Linked DNA regions of Homo sapiens: all the other regions are linked to region 3. Evidence: promoter capture Hi-C in 16 types of primary human blood cells and fetal thymus (Javierre and others, 2016). All regions are on one chromosome and are shown on one strand. Each heading gives the region's core, a stretch centred on a gene start or on the middle of the fragment in contact. The rest is flanking DNA. Distances are from core to core; before and after follow the strand shown. Region 1 overlaps RALGAPA2 (Ral GTPase activating protein catalytic subunit alpha 2). Region 2 overlaps RALGAPA2 (Ral GTPase activating protein catalytic subunit alpha 2). Region 3 holds the start of CFAP61-AS1 (CFAP61 antisense RNA 1).

Evidence for each region. The method cuts DNA at HindIII sites, captures the fragments that hold promoters and counts their contacts. A CHiCAGO score of 5 or more calls a contact.
Region 1: a contact is called between a fragment that was not itself captured here and the fragment with the promoter of CFAP61-AS1 in region 3, in 1 of 17 cell types (M1 macrophages). The highest score is 6.6, in M1 macrophages.
Region 2: a contact is called between a fragment that was not itself captured here and the fragment with the promoter of CFAP61-AS1 in region 3, in 5 of 17 cell types (M1 macrophages, fetal thymus, M2 macrophages and 2 more). The highest score is 10.5, in M1 macrophages.

What each region holds. Positions count from the first base shown.
Region 1 is chr20:20,579,391-20,582,349 of GRCh38, forward strand. All of the region lies in intron 20 of RALGAPA2 (Ral GTPase activating protein catalytic subunit alpha 2), which reads right to left. Among named protein-coding and RNA genes, the nearest start is that of RALGAPA2, 130 kb to the right of the region's middle. The HindIII fragment of the contact is 1,229 bases long and covers 715-1,943 here.
Region 2 is chr20:20,562,893-20,565,799 of GRCh38, forward strand. All of the region lies in intron 23 of RALGAPA2 (Ral GTPase activating protein catalytic subunit alpha 2), which reads right to left. Among named protein-coding and RNA genes, the nearest start is that of RALGAPA2, 150 kb to the right of the region's middle. The HindIII fragment of the contact is 894 bases long and covers 1,166-2,059 here.
Region 3 is chr20:20,266,479-20,269,178 of GRCh38, forward strand. CFAP61-AS1 (CFAP61 antisense RNA 1) reads right to left here and starts at 1,359. Exons shown (of 4, transcript NR_183979.1): 1 at 1,016-1,359. The region is part of intron 21 of CFAP61 (cilia and flagella associated protein 61); the gene reads left to right. RefSeq lists an enhancer at 588-1,088. The HindIII fragment of the contact is 5,830 bases long and covers 1-2,700 here.

The DNA.
Region 1 (2,959 bases), core at 79-2,578, 310 kb after region 3:
TTCCAGTAGAGAAAGACCTTGGAATCTCCCAACTAAACCAAGATGCTAGATAACATTTCTCACCAAACCTTACTTTAAAAGTTATCACTGAGCTAACAAGAACATGGAAAGAAAAGAGCAACAAAGCTGGCTTTTTCCCTTTGTGGTTCTGCTAAACCACAGAATTCTTAAAAGTTTCTCTGGTAATGCAGTTTTCATTTTGCTGAGGTTGAATTACTGACACTTTTTTTATGGTTAGCTATTTTTTAAAAAAAATCATAGAACCTTTTAAAAAAGACGTTTTCTTCCAAAAGTTTTTAAATTTTCCTTTTCACATTTATGTACTTTATCCCTCTGAAACTGACTTTGGACATGGCGTGAGGTAGGAATTCTATTTCATTTTTTTCCATATGGCTAAGTACTTGTCCCACAGAAATGTGTTGAACAATACATTGTTTCCTTGTCAGACCTGACAAGCCACATATATCATATATCATGATTCCATGTCTGTGTGCACTCAGTGCTATATTTTATCTTCTGTTCCATCCGTCTATTTGTCTATCTCTATGATTACAACTTTAAGTAAATGTCATAGAATTTATCACATTATTTGTGACTATTAGGATAAATGTTGTGTCTTCTGTCCTTTTTATAAGCTCTTAAAAACTATAGTGGCTTATGACTTATTCATCTTTTTATTTCTCAGAGCATCTAAATCAGTATTTCTAGACTATAAGCTTATTTGTTAAATAAGGGATGAGGTAAATGACAATACTGATTCTTAGCTGTAGACTCATAAATGTCCCCCTCCCCTGACTATTTCAACAGAACTAAATGTATGCATGTCTTAAGTATATTTTCTTATTTTCTGTCTTCTCAATGCTCTGGCATTAGGGCCTCACTGATCAGGGAAGGACTGCCACTTCCAGGGTTAGCTAATTCCTAGAGATAGAAGTCTATTCACCAGGCAGCATGTCTTTCACATGCAAACCTACCAATTCAAAATTCAGACCCTCCAACTACCTCCTTTCTCTAGTTCTCACATACTAAGTCAATATCCCCTGCCCTGTCATCCTAGGACTGGGTACCAGGAAACTAGAAACAGCCCGTATGCTCCAGAGCCCACTGAAGTCATTCATATTAGTAATCCTAAAACTGCATACCCTGCCTTGCCTTGCTATTTCCATAGAAATGACACTAAAAGCGGTTGCCCCATTTTGTTCCTTCTGCCTCCTGGTACTTCCCTGCATGACCCCTGTTTCCAGGGATCCGTGAGTATAAACTTCTTCCTCCATGACAATCATTTCCATGTCTGTATGTCTTACCACATCTGATTAAAACAAATCCCAGGTAAACTTTAAGACAATGCACAGTAAATTTAGCTGTTATTTTCAGCAAACATGATTTAATGAGAAAGCAAATATAAAAGTAAACAGTTTGCCAGTGATGAAGGAATTTAAGATTTTGGAGGCAGTTTATTATTCTAAGCATTTGATAACTGGTAGGATTATTCAATAAGAAACAAAGATATAATCAAATTGTTTCTCTTTGCATGTCCTAAAAATCAGGCTCATATGAGTTTTATTTTGAACATTTATGAAGAAATTGCTCTCTTAAGAACAGAAAGTTAAATTCAGAACTGTGATAATCCTTAAGCCTTATCACATTACAGTTTGTCCTTTTCACAGATGACAAGGTGAACTATTGAACTGCGTGTACTGATTCTCTATATTAGTATTTCAAAGAAGAACGGAGTATTTGGAGGAGTTAATCACAACATGGAGTGCATCATATAAAATTACCTCACAGAGGTTTATTAAATTGAGCTGTCCAATACATACCCTGAAATGGGATCAAAACTAATCTTTCCAAAGAACAGACAAAAGAAGTAATCACCTAATTTTCTTCCCTTTCAATAAAAATAATTAAAACTAGTCCATGTTTAAGTAAATTCAACCTACTGAAGCTTCAGTTTTGCCTCCTACAGTACCACAATGATGACTTTCTTTTGGATAATCTGTAAGGATTCTCAAGTAGGTCAAAGGGCTTTACAGTAATTTTAATTTTAACAGGAACACAGTGTAAAGGAGTAGACATAGCACTGCACGTTGAGTCAAAACATTTTGGAAGCCAGTTTCATCTCTGGAACTCACACTCCAGCTTGATAACAATTTCTCTGGGTCTCAATCTCCCCATCTCTAAAACAGACATGATAAGACTTGGCCTGCTTCCCATACAGAATCAAAGAGAATGCCTCAAAATTCTTTGTAAATGTTGAATCTCATATCAATGTATAGTATTATTAGTCAAAATCATTATTTAGTCTATAAAGAATTTTACTGAATACCACCTTCATATGTTAATTTTATGAAGTTTTAATGACATTCTATCAAGAATTTCCCAAATATCAGAGACGTTAGTTAAATTTTAAATCACAGTGAAAACCAGTTTGCTTGGTTTAAAAAAAAAAATCCATTTAAGGTCAAATTTTAGCCTTTATGTTAATCATTTTAAAATATTTTTTGGCATTTTAATAACACTCTTAACATGTTACTTTGTGGTGGTTGTTTTCATACAAGATACCTGTGTGTGAACATGAATGTGCATCCATAAAAGTCTTGGCTCTGGTCAGCCTTTCCCGCACTGATTCCTCAGACCACGAGTCTCTCCTGACACTCCACAAAACAAAGCAAAACCAAACCCAGCTCCTCCATGGCCTCCCCGTTCTCATCAGCCTGGTCAAACAGGTGAGGGAAACTGACCTTTGAGGTTGACTTACCCAGTGTCACACAGTGTGTGTGTGTGTGTGTGTGTGTGTGTGTGTGTGTCTGTGTGTGTGTAGCTAAAACTGCAGACTACACCACACACAATATTTTGGGCACCTGACTTAGATGTTCACTCATTTATTCTTCCAACAGCCTTCATAAAGTACGGGCTATTATCCCAAATTTAAAGGCAAAGAAACAAAAGGACAGAGATT
Region 2 (2,907 bases), core at 363-2,862, 300 kb after region 3:
AGTCTTTATGGCGATTGATAGCTGAATAAAGTTATAATAAAACTTTCATTGATAAATTTTGATGAATCTGTGGCTTGTCCATTCCCACAAAACCTTGTGGAAAACACTCGGAAGGCAGTGGATGCTACCTGATGGTGTAACGTTAATTATATGACAGCTTCTGTATTTTATCACTCTGAATTTGTACAATAAGCACAAACAGGAATTATGATTAACTTAACAATACATGTCAGGAGAGGACTGTCATCTCTCACCTGTCCTTATAAATATTATCCTTCAATCAAACCTAAGTCAAACTTGGAAGTTTTGTTTATTGCTACAGTAAACTCCCCTTATATTCAATAATATTTCATTAACTTGAGTAAAGTAAATTCAGGTCAGAAGTTGTATTTTTAGAAAAATAAAAGGACTTGTTTTTAAGTGCTACATTACTTTCAGAAATAATTAGTAACAAATATATGTCTTGGCTAACAAAAACATCAATTACAGAGCCCTTTAGATGTCCCATTTTAATAATTATAAATACATTTACAATTTGCATACCAACTGCTTGAATTCCAACAGAATTAGAAAATATGTTCTCTTAAGTACAGAGAAAATGTCCCTGGAAATCTTTCCTGCACATTTCTAATTCCTAACAGGCAAGAATTCTTTGGGGACACCCCTTGGTGTATCCTCGGATGCACCCATTTGGCCTGTCCTATGCTATAATGTCCAAGGTGAGGAAGGGTCATCAAGACATGAGTCGAAACTTACAGTCCCTTTATCCTATCATGCCCACATGTCTTCCTTTTCTCAATTCATCTTCTTGCCTTTCTGAACCAACATTTGCCTTGACAGATAATGGGAATCGTGCCAGGACACTACTTTCTCAGGATGCTTACCAATCAGTACTACATCCTACCTCTCCAACATATTTCTCACACACAGACAAACACACACACACACACATGCACAAAACACATATGTGCATATATATACAAAATATATACACATATAATGAATTATACACATAGACACACACACACACAAACCCCATCTGTGCCTCAGTCCTTGTTAGCCCTCATTACCTTGCCCCTGGGCTATTATAATAATTTCCTTTCTGTGTTTGTTGTCATCATTCTTTCATGATTATAATTCACCCCCACTTTATCACTGTGGTTTAAGCTTCTTAAAATGCTCTTGTGGTCATGTGGAGTATCATGCTCAAAAACCTTCAACAGCTCCCCACTGTCCATGGGATGAAAACTACTTTGAATCAAGGCTCTCTACAGTGCTGCCTGGATTCATGACCATATATTATTTCTACGCATATATCTGGCATTAAATCAAAGCCACTCTAGTCATTGTTCCTGAACACAGCCTGAAAAGTTCTGTATCTTTGATGTGAAACTCCATCATGCTTCTTGTCCTGCTATTTAAATCCTATCCATTCTTGAAAGTCCTGCTAAATCCCCTCTCCTTTGTGAGCTGCTTTCAAATCAACTTAGCTAAAAGGATATTCAACAGTTCAATTTTCATAACATGTATATCACTACTTATTTGGTCTTCTGCACAAGTTGATGGTTAGTACAGATACTTGTTTATGCATCTCACACTCTCATAACCTGACTAGGTCTTTACCATGGCAGGAAAAAATATTCAACATAAAAAGATCATTGAACTTTGTGCCACATTTAGGAAGGAGTGATGTGACCCTAATAATAAAGTGCCTAAAAATAAATCAGAGGATCTAAGAATGCTTAATGGGAAAGGGTCTGAGAGGCTCTCTAGCCCAATTCATTCACTTGACTACTTGTGGATAGGTGAGGGCCCCATGGCCAGTGAGTGACAAAGCTGAGTCTAGCTCTAAGGTATTTTAGTTCCCAGTATCAGGCCTGCCATCCATGAGAGTCATATGTTATTCTTGAAAGTCAATATATTCTGAAGCCATCTTATATCCTGAATTCTTGGAAGTACATTTTCCAATTCTTAGAAACCTTAGGAATAAGGCCCCACATTAGTCCTATTTTTACTTGTTGTATAAACCTATAGTTTTTTTTAAACTGTTTTTAAATGAAGCTTTAACAAAGTTAGCCTTCTAAAGGTCTAAAGTTCCTCTACTGATACACATCAAAGTTATTATTTCATCCTCGGAACATCAGTTAGATCTTTAAATTCACAAATAAGTACTTTATCTGCTAGTGTTGAGTTAAAATCCTATAAATTAAAACCTTGGTAAAATCACTTGCTGTACAGAATGAGCACTTTAGAGACATGTATTAAAATTATTTCCAGGGATTTGAGATAAACAAGGCCTCCAATTTGCCATCCTAATTCTTTACCTTTCCTGGAACTGAATACTCACTTATGTTTCACCTTAAATATACTTTGAAATTTATGTTTATCTAACATATATGGTTCCATAGTAACAAGTCTAAATTTTCAGCAAAGAACAATTCTTTGTCTGAGAAAAGGTGATGCAATTATTACATATGACTGCATGATACAGGCTGTCTGGGGTTATTAAAAGAGTCAGGTATGGCCAATTTACAAGTATCACCCCTGCACCTTGCTTTCAAAGCTCACTGCTGAGTCTTAATGCTCACTGAGGGGCCTCATGGGATCTTTTTACAAACGACTGTTTATTATTATATTATTCCATCATATACCTCATGAGAGGGGGTTGTAACACCCGTTAAGAAAATCATGAACTACTTTGACTTCTGTGATAGAATACTGCTCTATATATGATGTTTAAAATTATGGTTTTTTTTAACATTGATGTGACAAAACGTTCATAAAAATGTGGAGTTAAATGAAAGCAAAATGTTCCTACAAGCTAAATATTATTGCCTACAAAATAAGTGGCTAAAATTTTAAAAATACAAAAATTAAATTAATGCTCAAGTGCATTCAGCAACTGAA
Region 3 (2,700 bases), core at 109-2,608:
GTTTTACTGAATGTAAGTGAAGACAGTTCAGGATGTAACTCTTTTCCTTACCTCCCACATGGTGAGTTTTATCAAAACTTTTTGCATTCGGCCTACCTGGAAATAGATGGTCAATTGAGATGAAGACAAGAGAACCCTTGAATGAAATTGAAGCTATTCTTTAAAAATTCATCCTTAGTAATGAGAGTAATAACATGCTGGCTACACAGGATGAGTTAAGCTCCTCCTCACGAATAACAGACATTTATAAAGTCAGTCTAGCTCAGGTTCTGGAGTCACGTGACTTGGGTTCAAATCTTGGGTCTGCCGTTTCCCTGGGCAAGTTACTTAACTGCTTTGTGTCTCAGATTCTAGATAATATCTACCTCACATGGGTTGCTGAGAGGGTGAAAAGAGATAAATGAGATTACATGCCATACTCAGGACAGTCTCTCATACATAGAAAGAGTTTCATAGAGGCTGCCATTAGCATTGCTCTTACTTCTATGTGTGATGGAATTAAAGGTACCCTAGAGTAGAAGTCTCAGCCCTTGCCACCAGGGCCCTGATGAAGTTGAGGATATCAGTCTCTATTTAAAGACAGGGATCCGTGTACACCAGGTGCCAGTCAGCTATAGAGGCACTGTGGCCTTCAGGAGAGCCCTGGAGGCTGTGAAGTTTGGAGAAGGCCTCCCCGAGAAAGGAGGATTTGAGCTCAGTCTTGAAGAGGGACAGGATAAGAAGAGAGAGAGGCTGGGGGAGTTTGGATTGTGTCCAAAAGACACTGGGCCAACAACGTGGGCTGGGCAGAGTCTGTGAAGGGCAGCAGCAGGAGATGAAGCCAGAGGCATGGGCAGGGACAGACACTGGCGGGCCGCAAGCACCCAGCCACGTCCAAGTTTAACTGGTTACCTTTTAGGGATGGGAGCTGACCAGGCGGGTGCCGCTGTACACACATAGCACTTTGGGAAAATGGCCTTTCCATCTGTAGTACCCATGCCAGCAGAGAGAAGGTGACCACGGGAGAATGGCTTACCATGGATGGCAGTAGCCAATAGGGGCGAGGCAGCTGTGGATGCAGGAGCTAGCTGGAAGTGGCCACCCTTGCTGCATGTGGTGGTCTTGCTGACACAGCCACTGCTAGCTTATTTCCAAGTCAGCGATGAGATGGTGGTGTTGCAGGGCTTTTCCGTAGTTCAGCTAAAGATGGGGTCCTTGTCCGTCCCGTGGCCACGAAAACGTAGCCTCGCAGACGGTTTGAAGGGTGAGTTAAACAGGGTTTTACTGGGTGAAAGGAAAAAAATGGGGTGGAGGAGGGGGAAGCAGGATCCTCCGCAAGGCAAGCCGGCTACTTGATTCCCAGGTTCCACACAGGAAGAGGAGGGGCCAGGCTCCTCCCCACTGCAGATGGCATGCATTTCCGGAGGCTCCACCCCAATGTGCAGGCTGGTTGGAGTTTTTCTAGGGACTCCCTCCCACCTGCCTGTCTCATTGGCATTTGAAGCCAGAAGCTAGAAGTCTGGCACATGATGGAAAGCAAGGAGCAGGGCTGTGCTTATGCACGTTTGAAAAGTCGCATGGAGCCATCCGTGACCGTCCTGGACATTTCAGTCCTTGCTTTTTCTTCATGTCACCCTAATAACACCAGGAGGAATGTGGACAGTTTTCATCATAGTTTATTTTTACTCCCTCAGTGCTAATTTCCCCTTTTTTAAATACTTTAGCATGTGAGTTGGGGCAAGGGAGCCAAGGACAGTGAAAAATAGTTTCATCGTGTCCCACTGGCTGTGGTTGGGTGACATGTCCCTCCGGGAACCACACCCTGAATCCTAACAAACACCAGTGCTGATGTTACTGAAGCCCAGGGATGTGAGGGGAGAATGGTGGATGGATTGTTCTAGAACAGTGGATATTGGGCATCAAGAACAAGAGATACTCCCAGGAGGAAGTCGGCTCTCCTTTGAACTTCTACCCATTGCAGACGCACACAGATACCACCCCAGAGAGTAGCTCCTTCCCACAGTCACTGTTGTATTTCACATCTTCTGCTTCCAAAGGAGAACACAGTGGTTCTGTGATGGAATTAGTCCATCCAGAGGACATGGTTTTCCGGGCTCTAGAGTTGGATGGATTTATAGAAGTAAATTACCCTAAACTATTAGAACTGCTCTAGTGCCATGGAGAAGAGCTGACATCACAGGCTCAAATGCTGCTTTCAACTGCAAACAAAACCTGGAGTGTTCTGCTGGGGGGTTTCTGATAGAACCCAGCAACCCGATACATTATAACAATTTATGGCACTAATTGAAACTAATTGAAATTCATCTGCTATTACCTCTGTACTTTCCATGAAAATGAAAAGTAGGATGAAAGTAAAGTAAAAAAAATAAACTACCTTAATGGCTCAAAATGGATCAATTATTTTCATCTTTAGCTAAATACAGTTTACTGCCTTATTAAAAGCATGTTTGTAGGAAAAGTATAACATTAAAATTCCACTGCATGCATCATCGAACAGAGGCTTTGTTATGTTATATCTAATATATTCTTCCCTTTTTATTCAGCAGAGCAGAACGGGACAGGTCACGTTTTGGGCATAGAAATCTTATGCTTTGGCTTCTAAAAAGTAAAAAGCGCATTGTCTGGTTCTATTCGTGGGCTATATATATATATATATATATATATATATACACACACACACACACACATACATATATGTAT